2 separate regions of the Homo sapiens genome follow, and region 1 is linked to region 2. Evidence: promoter capture Hi-C in 16 types of primary human blood cells and fetal thymus (Javierre and others, 2016). All regions are on one chromosome and are shown on one strand. Each heading gives the region's core, a stretch centred on a gene start or on the middle of the fragment in contact. The rest is flanking DNA. Distances are from core to core; before and after follow the strand shown.

Evidence for each region. The method cuts DNA at HindIII sites, captures the fragments that hold promoters and counts their contacts. A CHiCAGO score of 5 or more calls a contact.
Region 1: a fragment that was not itself captured here is called in contact with the fragment with the promoter of GRIN2C in region 2 in 7 of 17 cell types (non-activated CD4 T cells, total CD4 T cells, total CD8 T cells and 4 more); the score reaches 6.9 in non-activated CD4 T cells.

Annotation. Positions count from the first base shown.
Region 1 is chr17:74,671,519-74,678,068 of GRCh38, reverse strand. It overlaps RAB37-AS1 (RAB37 antisense RNA 1), which reads left to right and starts at 459. Exons shown (of 2, transcript XR_007065904.1): 1 at 459-720; 2 at 1,601-6,550. It also overlaps a transcript of RAB37 not described here. The HindIII fragment of the contact is 2,630 bases long and covers 1,894-4,523 here.
Region 2 is chr17:74,856,531-74,863,202 of GRCh38, reverse strand. It overlaps GRIN2C (glutamate ionotropic receptor NMDA type subunit 2C), which reads left to right and starts at 3,318. Exons shown (of 13, transcript NM_000835.6): 1 at 3,318-3,459. FDXR (ferredoxin reductase) reads left to right here. Exons shown (of 12, transcript NM_024417.5): 11 at 1-127; 12 at 256-706. The coding sequence ends at 386. RefSeq lists an enhancer at 1,793-2,491. The HindIII fragment of the contact is 5,318 bases long and covers 1-5,042 here.

The DNA of each region.
Region 1 (6,550 bases), core at 1,959-4,458, 190 kb after region 2:
CACTTCAACAATTCTCCAGCCTGGTGCTCACCTCTGGCTGTTTACTTCCACCCAGTAAGGCGGAGTTTCCTGCCCTGAAACTGAAGGACGTCCCTCCCTAGAACAGCTTATAAGAGGAAACATTAGGGCAGCAACACAAGTGAGTCTCAGACATTTTCTCACAAAAGGCCCCAGGGACCACAAATTAAAGGAAAGGATGCTTAGGAGAGGAAAGCCTGGAGAGTTTGGAAAACGACTTTGAGGCGCTGGACTGAGTCACCATCATTTCCTGCTGAGGTTATCCTAAGAGAACTAGCAGGCACCACCACTCCCCACACCAGCTGCCTGCTCTGGGATCTGGGCAGGACCGACCTATCAGCCAAAGGAGTCCCAGACGGCACCAGATTGCCAGTGATGTAATATACACTTCATTTGTTTATCTGTAAGCCTTCAGAGCAAGCAAGAGAGGAAAACAAGCCAGTGGAAATATTATACAGGGAGCAGCTAGCTTTTCTTGGCTTTCTTGTTTGTTCCTGAGCTGACAATAGAAATCTTTGAGAATTGGAACTAGTGCGCTTTGAAAACAAAACTCTCTTCACTTACAGGGCATGGATTTTTCTGCTAATTTGGATTCTTTTGAGGACAAATTTGCATACCATTATCATTATCATTGTTTCATCGAAAAAAAAATAAAAGAAGCACCTGTGGGATAGAGAATGAGAGAGGAACACAGAATGGCGAGTATGGTCTTTTGCTGTTTTATTTGTCTTTCTCTTGTACAATTTTCTGGCAGGGAAGGAGAACACTGTTGTATCCAGACCTTTCCCTAGGATTAATAGGTGACAGTCCCATGGGGAGGGAGCTAGCTGATGTGTGGAACTCTGTCTCTCATGGATGTTAACTTTATTTTTTATTTTTTAATTTTAATTTTTTTTGTGGGGGGACAGAGTCTCACTCTGTCACCCAGGCTGGAGTGCAATGGTGTGATCTCAGCTCACTGCAACTTCTGCTTCCTGGGTTCAAGCGATTCTCCTGCCTCTGCCTCCTGAGTAGCTGGGATTTCAGGCGTGCACCACCACGGCTGACTAATTTTTGTATTTTTAGTAGAGACGAGTTTCACCATGTTGGCCAAGCTGGTCTCGAATTCCTGACCTCATGATCCACCTGCCTCAGCCTCCCAAAGTGCTGGGATTACAGGTGTGAGCCACCGTGCCAAGCCTGGAGGTTAACTTTAATCAGAAGCCATAAGTGAGAGAGGACATTTCAAATTCAGTCAGACATGACCTTTTCTTCCTGGGTCACTCCCTTGCAGCTACCCGTATCTTTCTTAGGACACTTCTGGAATTATATAAAAGTATAGCCATTTGTGTGCATGCCTTCTAGGCCACAGGCTTAGTGAAGGTGGGAATCATTTGCGTCTATATTCTCGACAATGACCAGCCTAGTTCTTTACGCTTTGGAAATGTCCAATGCATGTTTGCTGAATGAATCGATGAGGCATGCGGACTTTTGAGGGACACAGAAATTACAAGATGGGTAATAGAAGAAGGAAGTGAAGAATAAGTGCAGGAGATGGGGGAGAGTGGCAGATATTACCTGCTTGCCTTTTCCTTTCACCCAGAAGAGGTGTTAGAGCAGTCGGAGGAAATGGACATACTTTGGAAGACAGAGACCTGGTAATCCCTTTTCACCCAAGAAGAACCAAGCCCTGGATGAATGGATGAGCAGCTCACGTTTTTCTGCCCCCCACCCCCAGTCTTTCTGAGACTGACTTTGTCCTAGGAATTGTTCGTCCCTCTGGAAGCTAGTCTGGTATGTGGATGTTCCTTAGAGCCCTGGTGATAGGGAATTAGGAAGTAAGTGCTTGAACTGAAGCCCTTTTGTCCTAATTCACTGGTATCTGGGGCAAAAGCTTGCCCTCTCTGTGAAAATGAAATGAAAATCTTTTCATTTTCTGGGAGCTCAAGGTCAGACCCTGGCACAGTAGGGACCCAATCCGTGGGCTGTTCCTGAACCCCTACCCCAGACCATTGCCCTGGATGGCTCTTGAAGCTGGTGGCAAGAGAGAACTGAGAGTTCTCTAAGGAAAAGAGCAGCCAGGTTGCTCCTTTGTTTTAAATTATTTAGCTGCACCAAATTTTCAGATTTGTGGCAACAACAACTCTATTTAAAAACTCCAGGCACATGATGGATGAGCTCAATGTTTTCAGTCAGTTCCCAGCTTCCAGCCCACCCTACGGGAATCTTCTAAGAGTTACTTGGGCTTGCCTGGGTCAGCCTCCAACTATTGGGACCAGCTAAAGTGCAAGAGCTACACAATGCCTATCATGATATTTGGCGTATGTTTTTCATATAAATGAATTTCATCAAGTCCCATACACCACCTCCAAGAGAAAAAAGATACTCAACTTAGGAAGTCAGAACTGGGATGTTTGCATAGAAGTCACGCTTTTTGTATAGATGGGTTGTGTGAGTTTATTTCCATGGACTTCTGCCTGTGAAATAGGTAGTGTGTGTGTTTCTGAGATTCTCTTGTATGAAGCTGCTGCTCTTCTCACAAAGCTCATCATTTTAGGTGAGACTGAATGTGACACCCATTGAAGCTGCTTTGGAGCCCAAGATGCATGCCCTAATACAACCACTTTTTTTTTTTTTTCGGATGGAGTCTCACTCTGTCACCAGGCTGAAGTGCAGTGGTGTGATCTTGGTTCACTGCAACCTCTGCCTCCCAGGTTAAAGCGATTCTCCTGCCTCAGCCTCCTGAGTAGCTGGGACTGCAGGTGCATGCCACCACCCCCGGCTAATTTTTGTATTTTTAGTAGAAATGGGGTTTCACCATGTTGGCCAGGATGGTCTCGATCTCCTGACCTCATGATTCATCCTCCTTGGCCTCCCAAAGTGCTGGGAGCCACTGCGCCCAGCCAATACAACCACTTTTATTGAATGCTTCCTATATTCCAGAGATTTTATATATACGCGTTACATTATATTCGCTAACATCCTTGCTCAAAAATAATAAGGCAGGTATTATCATTCCTATTTTATAGCTAAGAAAATTAAGACTCACAGATGTTGCTCAAAGTCACATCAAGGTTTGGCTTATTCCAAGCCTGGAGTTTCGTTTCATCATACGACAATATCTCTTCTCTGGCAAGTTTCTAGGACTACCCTACATAACATCTGCTGTGCTGTCAAAACACAAGATGATGCTTCTTCCTCTATAATGACAATCTCTGGGGGAGGGTGTTTGGCAAGTGGAATGTGGGAGGGGGCCTCTTGGGAAGCTGACAAGGTTCTATTTCTTTCTCTTGATAGTGATTGCACAGGTATGTTCACTTTGTGATAATTCACCAAGGTAGACACATAAGATTCAGGATTTTTTGGTGTTTGTCATATTTCTTTTTGTTTTTTTGAGATGGAGTCTTGCTCTGTTGCTGAAGCTGGAGTGCAGTGGTGTGATCTTGGCTCACTGCAGTCTCCACCTCCTCGGTTCAAGTGATTCTCCTGTCTCAGCCTCCCTAGTAGCTGAGATTATAGGAGTGTGTTACCACGCCTAGCTGATTTTTGTATTTTTAGTAGAGACAAAGTTTCGCCATGTTGGCCAGGCTGGTCTTGAACTCCTGACCTCAAGAGATCTGCCCGCCTCAGCTTCCCAAAGTGGTGTTTGTTATGTGTCAATAACAAGTCTATTTAAAAAATCATTTCCCCACGCTGGGCATGGTGGCTCATACATATAATGCCAGCACTTTGGGAGGCCGAGCGGGTGGATCTCTTGAGGCCAGGAGTTCAAGACCAGCCTGGCCAACATGGTGAAACTCTGTCTCTACAAAACAACAACTGCCAAAAAATTAGCCAGGCATGGTGGCACATGCCTGCAGTTCCAGTTACTGGGGAGGCTGAGGTGGGAGAATCACTTGCCTGGGAGGCAGAGGTTGCAGTGAGCTGAGATCACACCACTGCATTCCAGCCTGGGTGACAGACTGAGACCCCACTTCAAAAAAAGAATTTATCCTAGCAATTAATGTTGGAGGGGAGCCCTGCTTCTCATGGACAATAGACACTAATCAATCAATGGGAACTCCTTGGACTCTACTACATAGTAATTTTTAATATAATACAAATAAGTTGATGCCCTACCCCTTTACAAAAAGAGTTTTAAGTGGATCACAATAAAACATCATGCACAATCATAAAGTAGTATTAGGAGGAGGTTGTCAGCACTATATAAGAAGGAAAACTTTCCTTACATACATATGTCACTCTGCTGGGCACCACAGAAGGTTTAAGGCTGGCTCCTGCTCTCAGGGTGCTCACACAGCCAAGCTGATGACATTGAGCCTTTACTAGTAGTAAATAGATACTTGCCTTTAAATATGTTGGAACTTGTTGGAATGGGTTCCCACTCTCAATTTGGTGATCAATAAACTCAAAGGAAGTAACAGTCTTCATGGACTACATCCTACATCTCGTGTGTGGGTAATTGAAATGGAAAATACCACATCTGATCAATATTTTGAACAATCTGAGCTCCCAATCTTAAAGCTTTCAAAATGAGTATTTATACCTTTATAGGATGGTATAAACTTGGAGAGACCCACATATCTAGTTGCCAGGAAAATTTTGTAATTGATTTGTAATTATGTTCCTCTGCTTGCATAAACTTTTTTTTTCTTTTTTTTTTTGAGACAAGGTCTTGCTTTGTTGCCCAGGCTAGAGTGGAGTGCAGTGGTGTGATTTCGGTTCACTGCAGTCTCTGCCTCCCAGGCTCAAGCAATTCTCCTGCCTCAGCCTCCTGAGTAGCTGGGATCACAGGCGCACACCACCATGCCCAGCGAATTTTTGTATTTTTAGTAGAGACAGATTTTACCATGTTGGCCAGGCTGGTCTTGAACCCTTGACCTCAAGCGGTCCACCGCCTCGGCCTCCCAAAGTGCTGAGATTACAGGTGTGAGCCACCATGCCTGGCCTTGCATGCAGTTTTTACTGGGCTAAATTGACAACATCAAATAGCACAGAATTTCTTCTAGTTTACTTCAAACTGTGATGGCTTTAAAATTTCTAGACTGGGATAGTTGTTATACATTTTTTCTCCTTCTCTATATCCTAGGAATTCAGAGACCTGGAGGGAGAAGACACATGGACTGTCAGATCTAGAGACCTGCTTCCTTCAATAGCTGATTTTCTTTCATTTGTGTCAGAAACAGGCAGCATGGCACAGAGCCATGCACCTAAAACTTTATTGTGCATATTTATTCCTAGAGATCTTGTTAAAATGCAGATTCAGATTCAGCCAATCTAGGGTCAGGGCTTTCTATTGTAATAAGTTCCAAGGTAATGCCAATGCTGCTGGTCCATGGACTGCACACTTTGATGAGAAGTTTAGTAAGGATATAGAGGAAAGAATACTACACGTGTAGTAGTAATTTCTGGCTTTTAGTATCAGCTCTGCCATTTACCAGCTTGCTTTCTTGGACAAGTCATTTTTCCTCTCTGGATTTTAGTTTCCTCAAATATAAGCTGGGTGATAGAGGAGGAGGTTGGGTTAGGTTATTTCAAAGCTTGCATTCATAGACTCTTCAAAGTGATGTTTTGATTAAAAAACTCCACCTATAGGATCACGTACAGCTTTTCAAAGGACTAGCAGGTGAACTGGCATTATCAAAGCAGAAAATATAGGGGCTGGAGCAGGAAGGCATGGCAAAGTCAGAGAAAAGGAAGGTGAGCCATAATAACTTCTTATGGCAAATATAACACTTTGATTATTTCAGAGTGATGGATTTTGAATTAAAACTGTTATCCTGAGAGAGGCTACTATTTTTCCCAACAACTATCTTAGGGGGAGACCTGCATTACTGAAAACTGAGTTGCATAAGAAACTTGAGTGAAGGAAGCAATGGATATGTTAGTGCTTTGAAATAAGCAAATGCTTACAGGGGCTGTGAGGGAATCATGGCTGGAGGGAAGCTTTCTGGAGCCATGAGGGAGTCTGATTTGAAAACAGCAGTTCATCTCTGCTGCAGACCATTTATCTAATTTCAGACAAATTGGCCAGAAATTCAGGTATTTGGCCACTGCTAGCAGATGTAACAGGGAGAAATGCAGTCTCCTACAAGGGTTAGGAGAGCAAGGTGCCAGGGGTCACCCAGGGGCATAAATAGGCAAGGAGAAGGAGGGGGTGAAAAAGGAACACAGATGATGTAAGTGAATGAATGAAGCTTCTGACCATCTGAGCCTCTGGCGGCAGCCCTTCCCCAAGAGCTCACGCATCTCTGTTTTGAGCAGGAAACAGGATCAGACAGAAAGGGCTCCCCAGACTCACAGATACAAGCTAGTTTCTCATTAAGTCCCAAAGCAAAGTCAGGGGAGTGGAGAAAACTCCTGGTGCTGGCGCCTCTTCCAACGTTAGGTTGAGGAATACAGGAGATGTTTACCTTATGCAGGACGTGGTCGTTGAAGTCAGGGCCAGCTCCTCCCTGGTAGGAATCGGGTCTCTGCAGGTCCATGCCAGGCTTGGAGCTCGCCGCTCCGGCTCTCCCTGCGCTCTGCGTCAGCGCTTCCAGGAGCTCGGTTC
Region 2 (6,672 bases), core at 2,069-4,568:
ATAGCCACAACCATGACTGACAGCTTCCTCACCGGCCAGATGCTGCTGCAGGACCTGAAGGCTGGGTTGCTCCCCTCTGGCCCCAGGCCTGGCTACGCAGCCATCCAGGCCCTGCTCAGCAGCCGAGGTCTGGGCCCCGATGCTGAGGTCCTGGGAGGTGGGGTGGGTGGTCCTTCTCTGGGCCTCACTCTTTGGGAGGGGGCTGTTCTGGGAGGGGTGAAGGAGGAGGTGTTGACAATCTCCCCTCTGCTTCAGGGGTCCGGCCAGTCTCTTTCTCAGACTGGGAGAAGCTGGATGCCGAGGAGGTGGCCCGGGGCCAGGGCACGGGGAAGCCCAGGGAGAAGCTGGTGGATCCTCAGGAGATGCTGCGCCTCCTGGGCCACTGAGCCCAGCCCCAGCCCCGGCCCCCAGCAGGGAAGGGATGAGTGTTGGGAGGGGAAGGGCTGGGTCCGTCTGAGTGGGACTTTGCACCTCTGCTGATCCCGGCCGGCCCTGGCTTGGAGGCTTGGCTGCTCTTCCAGCGTCTCTCCTCCCTCCTGGGGAAGGTCGCCCTTGCGCGCAAGGTTTTAGCTTTCAGCAACTGAGGTAACCTTAGGGACAGGTGGAGGTGTGGGCCGATCTAACCCCTTACCCATCTCTCTACTGCTGGACTGTGGAGGGTCACCAGGTTGGGAACATGCTGGAAATAAAACAGCTGCAACCAAGAGCCATGGTTGATGGGGGACTTTTTTTGGAAGGGTTGGGGTCGGGGGTCACCTTCTGGCCGTAGCTCCCCTACCATCACCAGGTGGCGCTGCAGAGACGGCTCCCTGCTCAGGGGCCTCATTGGGGGCTTGATGGGGCTCGGCAGCCAGGCCTGGCATAGCCACCCTTCCTTTCTCCGCTCGGCCCTGCTGTGGCTGCGGGTTGCCTGTCTTCTGTCCACACTAGGGCTGCCCGGGACCGGGACCGGGACCACCCCTCCCTGGGGAGCCCTCAGTACAATCAAAACAGAAAAGAAATGGGAGCGGGGGACTGAGAAGCAGCTTGTCCCCTGTACCTCTGGGTGCCCCAGGCGAGTCTAGCCTGGGGCCCATTCTTTGGCTCTCAAAGCCTTCCTGCTTCCGTTTCCAGTCAGACACACTGGCCTTTAAAAATAGTGCCTCAGTCTCCCTAGGGCTTTGCAGTGTCCAGAGAGTGGTCACTCCCTTTTATGGCAGCCCTCAAGATGCTGCCTCGCTGTATAACCTGAGGGGTCCTCGAAATTGGCCCAAGGTCACACACTCGTGAGCTGCGGGCTCAAACCCAGGCTCCGGGCAGGCTGGTGTGTCCTCCGAGGCGCACTTGCCCCGAGTGTCAGGTCTGGGGACGCGGTTCCGGAGAGGGGAGAGGGGCCCGGGAATGCGGCGGGAGGGGCCTCGAGGGGCAGCGGGCCGGGCCGGGCCGGGGCGGAGGTGGCGGGCCCCGGCGGGGCGGGCCCTCGCGGGCGGCGGTGAGAGCTCCCGCACAGTCGGCTGCGAGCTCTGGGAGCAGGAGGCGCGGTGCGCAGCCCAGCCCGGGACGGAGCCGGGCGCCGTGCGAGCTTCGGGAGGGTCGCGGGGCGCAGGGGCGGGTCGGGGCCAGCGGACCAGGCCGCGCCACCCGCCCCCGCCCCCGCCCCGCCGCGCCCGGGCTCCGGCGCCCGCGGAGCTGAGACTGAGCGCGCCAGCCCTCCGGGGCCGAGGCTCTGGGACAGACACCGCGAGGGAGGCGGCCGGCGCGGGCTCTCGTCGCGGGCGCAGCGCCCCTTCCCCTCGGTAAGTGGCGAGCGGCGGGCGAGGGGCACCAACTTCGCCGCCAACTTGGGGCTGGGTTCCCGCGGCGCGCGAGCAAGGACGGCGGAGACAGAGGCGGGACACCCGGGGGGTTGGACCCACGCAGGACTCTCGGGGCTCAAGGAGGGGGCGGCTGGAGGACCCGGACCCTCAAGAACCTGGCCTTGGGTTTTGACCCGGGCGGCCGGAGAGAAGGCGAAGAAGAGGCCGAGCAGACAGGCGCGCGGCGGACGCGAGAGAAGGACGCGGGCGAAGCGTCCAAGACGTTCGTCCCCAGGGTCGCCGAGCCCTCCTCCTCCTTCGCTTGGCGCGGCAGCACCGCGGGACCAGGGGAGTCTGGGCTGCCGCGGACCCAAACTGTTGCTGCTGGAAGCCGCCGGGGCGGAGAGCGGGGAACAGGGCCGGGAGTGGGGGCCGGGGCTGGGATCCACCAGAGCGAGGGGTTGGAAAGGAGTCGAGAAGGTGAAAGGGGGCTGTGCGGCTCCCCAGCCCAGTGCCCCAGTTTCCCTAGGTCTGCTGGGCACCTGCTGCGCACTCGCCTCGGCGCCCAGACCCCTTCCCCCGCCGCGAGTCCCGCTTCTTCCCCTTCCAGCTCTGCCCCATCTCCTTTGCCCCAGCCTAGCTCTCTCCTTCCTGCGACCTGGGAGAATCGGAGTGGGCTTCCAGAGTAGTGGCATCTTGCAGATGCTGGCCCGTGCCCGGCTCCCGGGCTTCCAGAGCGCAAAGGGAAGGGTAGGCAGAGAGGGCACTGGGCGAGCAAGACCTGGCGCTGGGCCCTGGCTGCGCACCAGCCGCCTGCGCCGGTCTCTGGGGGCTTCGCCCAGGATCCCCGACGGCGGGGAGGGGAAGCCCCGAGTCTCCTGTTTCCTGCCTACGCGGGCAGGGCGGGGACACGCGGAGCAAAGGCACCCGGCAACCTGAACCCCCAGGTGCGTCCCGCGACCCTGCAAGGAGCTGCTGGGTGAGCAAGACGGGAATTCCCGCCAGGCCCTGATGCCCACCCCATTCGTCCACTCGGTTTCCCAGCCCTGGTCGTCCAAGGGGACTTCTGGCTCGGTCCCCCAGCCCTCGGATGGTGGCGTTATCTTAGTTCAGTCCCTGACCCCGGGCCACAGGAAAATCGAGGAAAGACACTTATTTGGGGAGGGTACCATTCCGCTGGCTGTATTTCAGAGCCCGTCCAGGTCTTGGCGGTGCTAGTGACTTTGAGCCTGTTTCTAAACTCCCGAAGAATAAGAGCGTGCCAGGGGCAGGTAGGCAGGTCCGGGACACCTGGGTTCGCCCAGGGCCCCCGGGCGGGCCTGGGATGGTACTGGGGCCGCCTGCCAGGCTGGCTTGGTCCCCCCACTGCGGGACTCGGGGTCACGACCCAGCTTGGGGGAGTGGGGGTGGGGGCCCCGGAGCCGCGGACGCCGGCGGGGGGCAGCGTGGGGCGGGGGGCGCCGGGTGCGTGGTGCTCAGCTTGGCCGCCAGGAGGCGTGGCGCGGGTCCCCGCCCGGAGCCGCCGCCGCCGCCGCCGCCGCCGCATCGCGAGTGTCCTTGAGCCGCGGGTGACGGTGGCTCTCGCTGCTCGCGCCCCCTCCTCCCGCGGGGGGAGCCTGATGCCACGTTCCCTATGAATTATTTATCGCCGGCCTAAAAATACCCCGAACTTCACAGCCCGAGTGTAAGAGATTGCTGCGGAGGGGAGGGGGCGGGGCGTCCCGGTGGCCAGGGGGAGTCCGGGCGGGGTCCGCGGAGACGGGGGCCGTAGCCTTGGAGGAGCAAGAACTCCGTGCCCCCAGCAGTGGGGCAAGCTAGAACGGCGGTCCTCTCCCCTGGCGCCTGGGTTCGGGTTTTGGCTGGGCAAAAGGGAGGGAGGGAAACCCGACGGCAAAGGAGGGGCGGCTCACCGGAAGGGCAGGGGGTCCGGGGGTTCTGCTGGTGGGTGGGGAGGACTCCTGCGACAGAGTTTCCTAGCCTGGGAGAGGGAGAGCCATCGGTATCTCAGATGTGAGCGGGTATGAGTGCGGGAGTGTGCATGTGTGTGCAGGTCCGTGCCAGGGGGTCTGGCTGAGCTGTGAGGACCCGGGAAGGAGAAGGCCCCCAGCCTGGGAAGGTGCTCAGACCCTTCTAGATGCTGCTGTGTCCTGCAGGACTGACCACTGCCATCCTCTCTGGGGCTCTTTGGGGATCTCTGTGTTTGTCAAACATTAGTTTAAGGGCTGTTTGTGGAAGGGGTGAGACCCTGAGTGGGTGGGTGGGCAGAGGTCTCTGAGACAATGTGTCTGCCCTCAAGGAGCCCGCAGTCCAGTGTGGGGCAGGGTGTTAATGAGTGCACACACACCTGCCGCAGGGCAGAATGGAGGGGTGGAGGGGACCACTACACAGAGCTCCCCACCCAGGAGGGGAAGCCAGGGCAGGGGGAAGAAGGGCAGGTGCCCCAGCCTGGCCGCAGTCCCTGCGCCTAGAGCCTGAGGCATCAAGGCAGGTGCCTGTGGGAGAGGGATTTCAGCTGGGCCCTGAAGGAGAGTAGACTTCTGTTGGGATGAGGACATTCCAGCCTGGGGGATGCTGGAACGAGGCCTGGAGATGAGGGCAGAATGGGGCTGTTTGGCCAGCAGACTGGCAGAGCTGTGGGTTCCAGGGATGGGAGGACGGTTGGTTGCGGTCAGGGTGCAGAGGGCTCTGTCTATGGGACTAAGCTGTCTGGACTTCATTTGTGGGCACCAGGGTGTAGCTGTCCTGTGTGAGGAGGGAGCAGTGGCTGGAGGAAGGCTTCAGCAGTGCAGTGGGGCTGGCGGGGGTGGGTAGGTGGGAGGTGGGGAGGGGGAGGCAAGGGAGGAGATTGTGGCGGGGGAAAGTGGAGTTTGTCCCTCCTACCTCTGTAGGGTGGCTGGGTTAGACGGGGTGATGAGACAGAATTCGGAAGCTCCTTGAGTCTGCCCCTTGCTATTTGGAGCCCAGGGACTTACCTAGTTTTGGCCCCTGGCTCTGGAGGTATTCTGGGATCCCTCCCCCATTTTAGGCCCCTTGATTAGAGGTACAACCTGCCTCAACTCCCCCACCCCCCGACCCCCAACCCCCAACCCAGCAGGACACCTTCCCTTTGGAGAGAGTCTCTGGTGTCCCCAGCCCATGAGGATGTCTTCCTATTGGAGAGAGTGGGAATGAGAACATTTTCAGCTATTACCAGACCCTTATTCCTTCATGTGAATGAGCTCTAGGTCCTTGGCTAAGAAAAGGTCTTGACTGGGGAGGGTGGAAGCTTGAGGGGAGTAGGGAGTTGGAAAGAGAAATACATTTAGAAAAAGGAGGTTGGAGATGCTAATGGCAGACTGCTTATTCTGCCCCTTTGCAGTTGAGGGAGAGCCTGGGCCCTTCATCCAGGGTCACACTGTCCAAAGAAATAAAATGGGAGCCACAAGTACAATTTAAAATTTTCTAGTAACCACATTAAAACAAATAGAAACAGGTGACGTTAATTTTAATAGTATATTTTCTTTGACTAAACATACCCCAAATGTTATTATTTCAACATGTAATCAAGATACAAGTGTTTACGAGATTTTTTACATTCTTTTTCCCTGTTGTCTTCAATGTGCAGTGTGGCATGAAATTTTACACTGATAGCAAACTCCGTTTGGGTGAGAGATGTTTCTGGTACCCAATAGTCGTGTATGACTGGCGGCTCCTATACTGGGCAGCACAGATCTAGAGCTCATTACTGGGAGGCAGGGGTAGTAGGAGGTTTGGGGCTCCCCAGAGGGCAAGGAACCTCTAGGACCTGGAGGTGTGGGCAGAGGTGAGCAGACAGAGGCCGTGCAAGGGGAGCGACAAGCATGTCAGTGTCCTTTGTGGTTGAGATCTGACATCCCTGATTGGTGGTGGCAGCTGAGGCATGGCATGGCATGGCTAGGATCGATCCCTTGCCAGACTCAAACATGTCTCTGGGCTGTCAGTTCTGTCACTTCTGTCACTTCTGTGTCACTGTACTAGGGAACCGTACACATGGGAAGATTTCAAGGGCGCCACCATGAGAGCAATATTCCCTTCCTTGCCAAAACTCTTGTCTTCTTGGCCTGAAATTCTACCACCTGGCACTTTAGCTTAAGGCTCTGATTGTGGTTAAACTACATCTCTCTTGGGAATGAGAACCCTTTCAGCTATGATCAGTCCCTCATACCTTCCTGTGAATGAGCTCTAGATGCTTAGCTAAGAGAAGATCTTGACGGGGAGGCTGGGGAGTTTGAGGGAAGTAGGGAGAGAAGGTTGGAAAGAGAAATATATTTAGAAAAAAGGAGGTTGGAGGTGCTAACAGCAGCATGCTCATTCTGCAGATTTGACTCTAAGTTCCTGGAGGGCAGGGACCATGTCTCACCCATAGGGACATTCCACCATCCAGCGCCTGCTGCAGGGAAGGGGCTCAGCACACACGGGCCAATTGATGTTTCTACACTAAAGTTGGTTTAGTGGGTTCCCTGGAGGGATCCTTTCAGTGCCACCCTGGGGAGAAGAGGAACTTTCCTGAATGTTCCTGGTAGCCTCTTGCACTTCCCCGCTCTCTGGATTCCTTAGAGAGAACTAGAGATACAAGAAGGCCCATATGTCTGTAAGACATTAGGCTTTGGATTAAAAAAAAAGAGAGAGATAGCTGGGTGTGGTGGCTGACGCCTGTAATCCCAGCACTTTGGGAGGCCGAGGTGGGCAGATCATGAGGTCAGGAGATCGAGACCATCCTGGCTAACACGGTGAAACCCTATCTGTACTAAAAAATACAAAAAATTAGCCGGGCATGGTGGTGGGCGCCTGTAGTCCCAGCTACTTGGGAGGCCGAGGCAGGAGGATGGCATGAACCCGGGAGGTGGAGCTTGCAGTGAGCCGAGATCGCACCACTGCA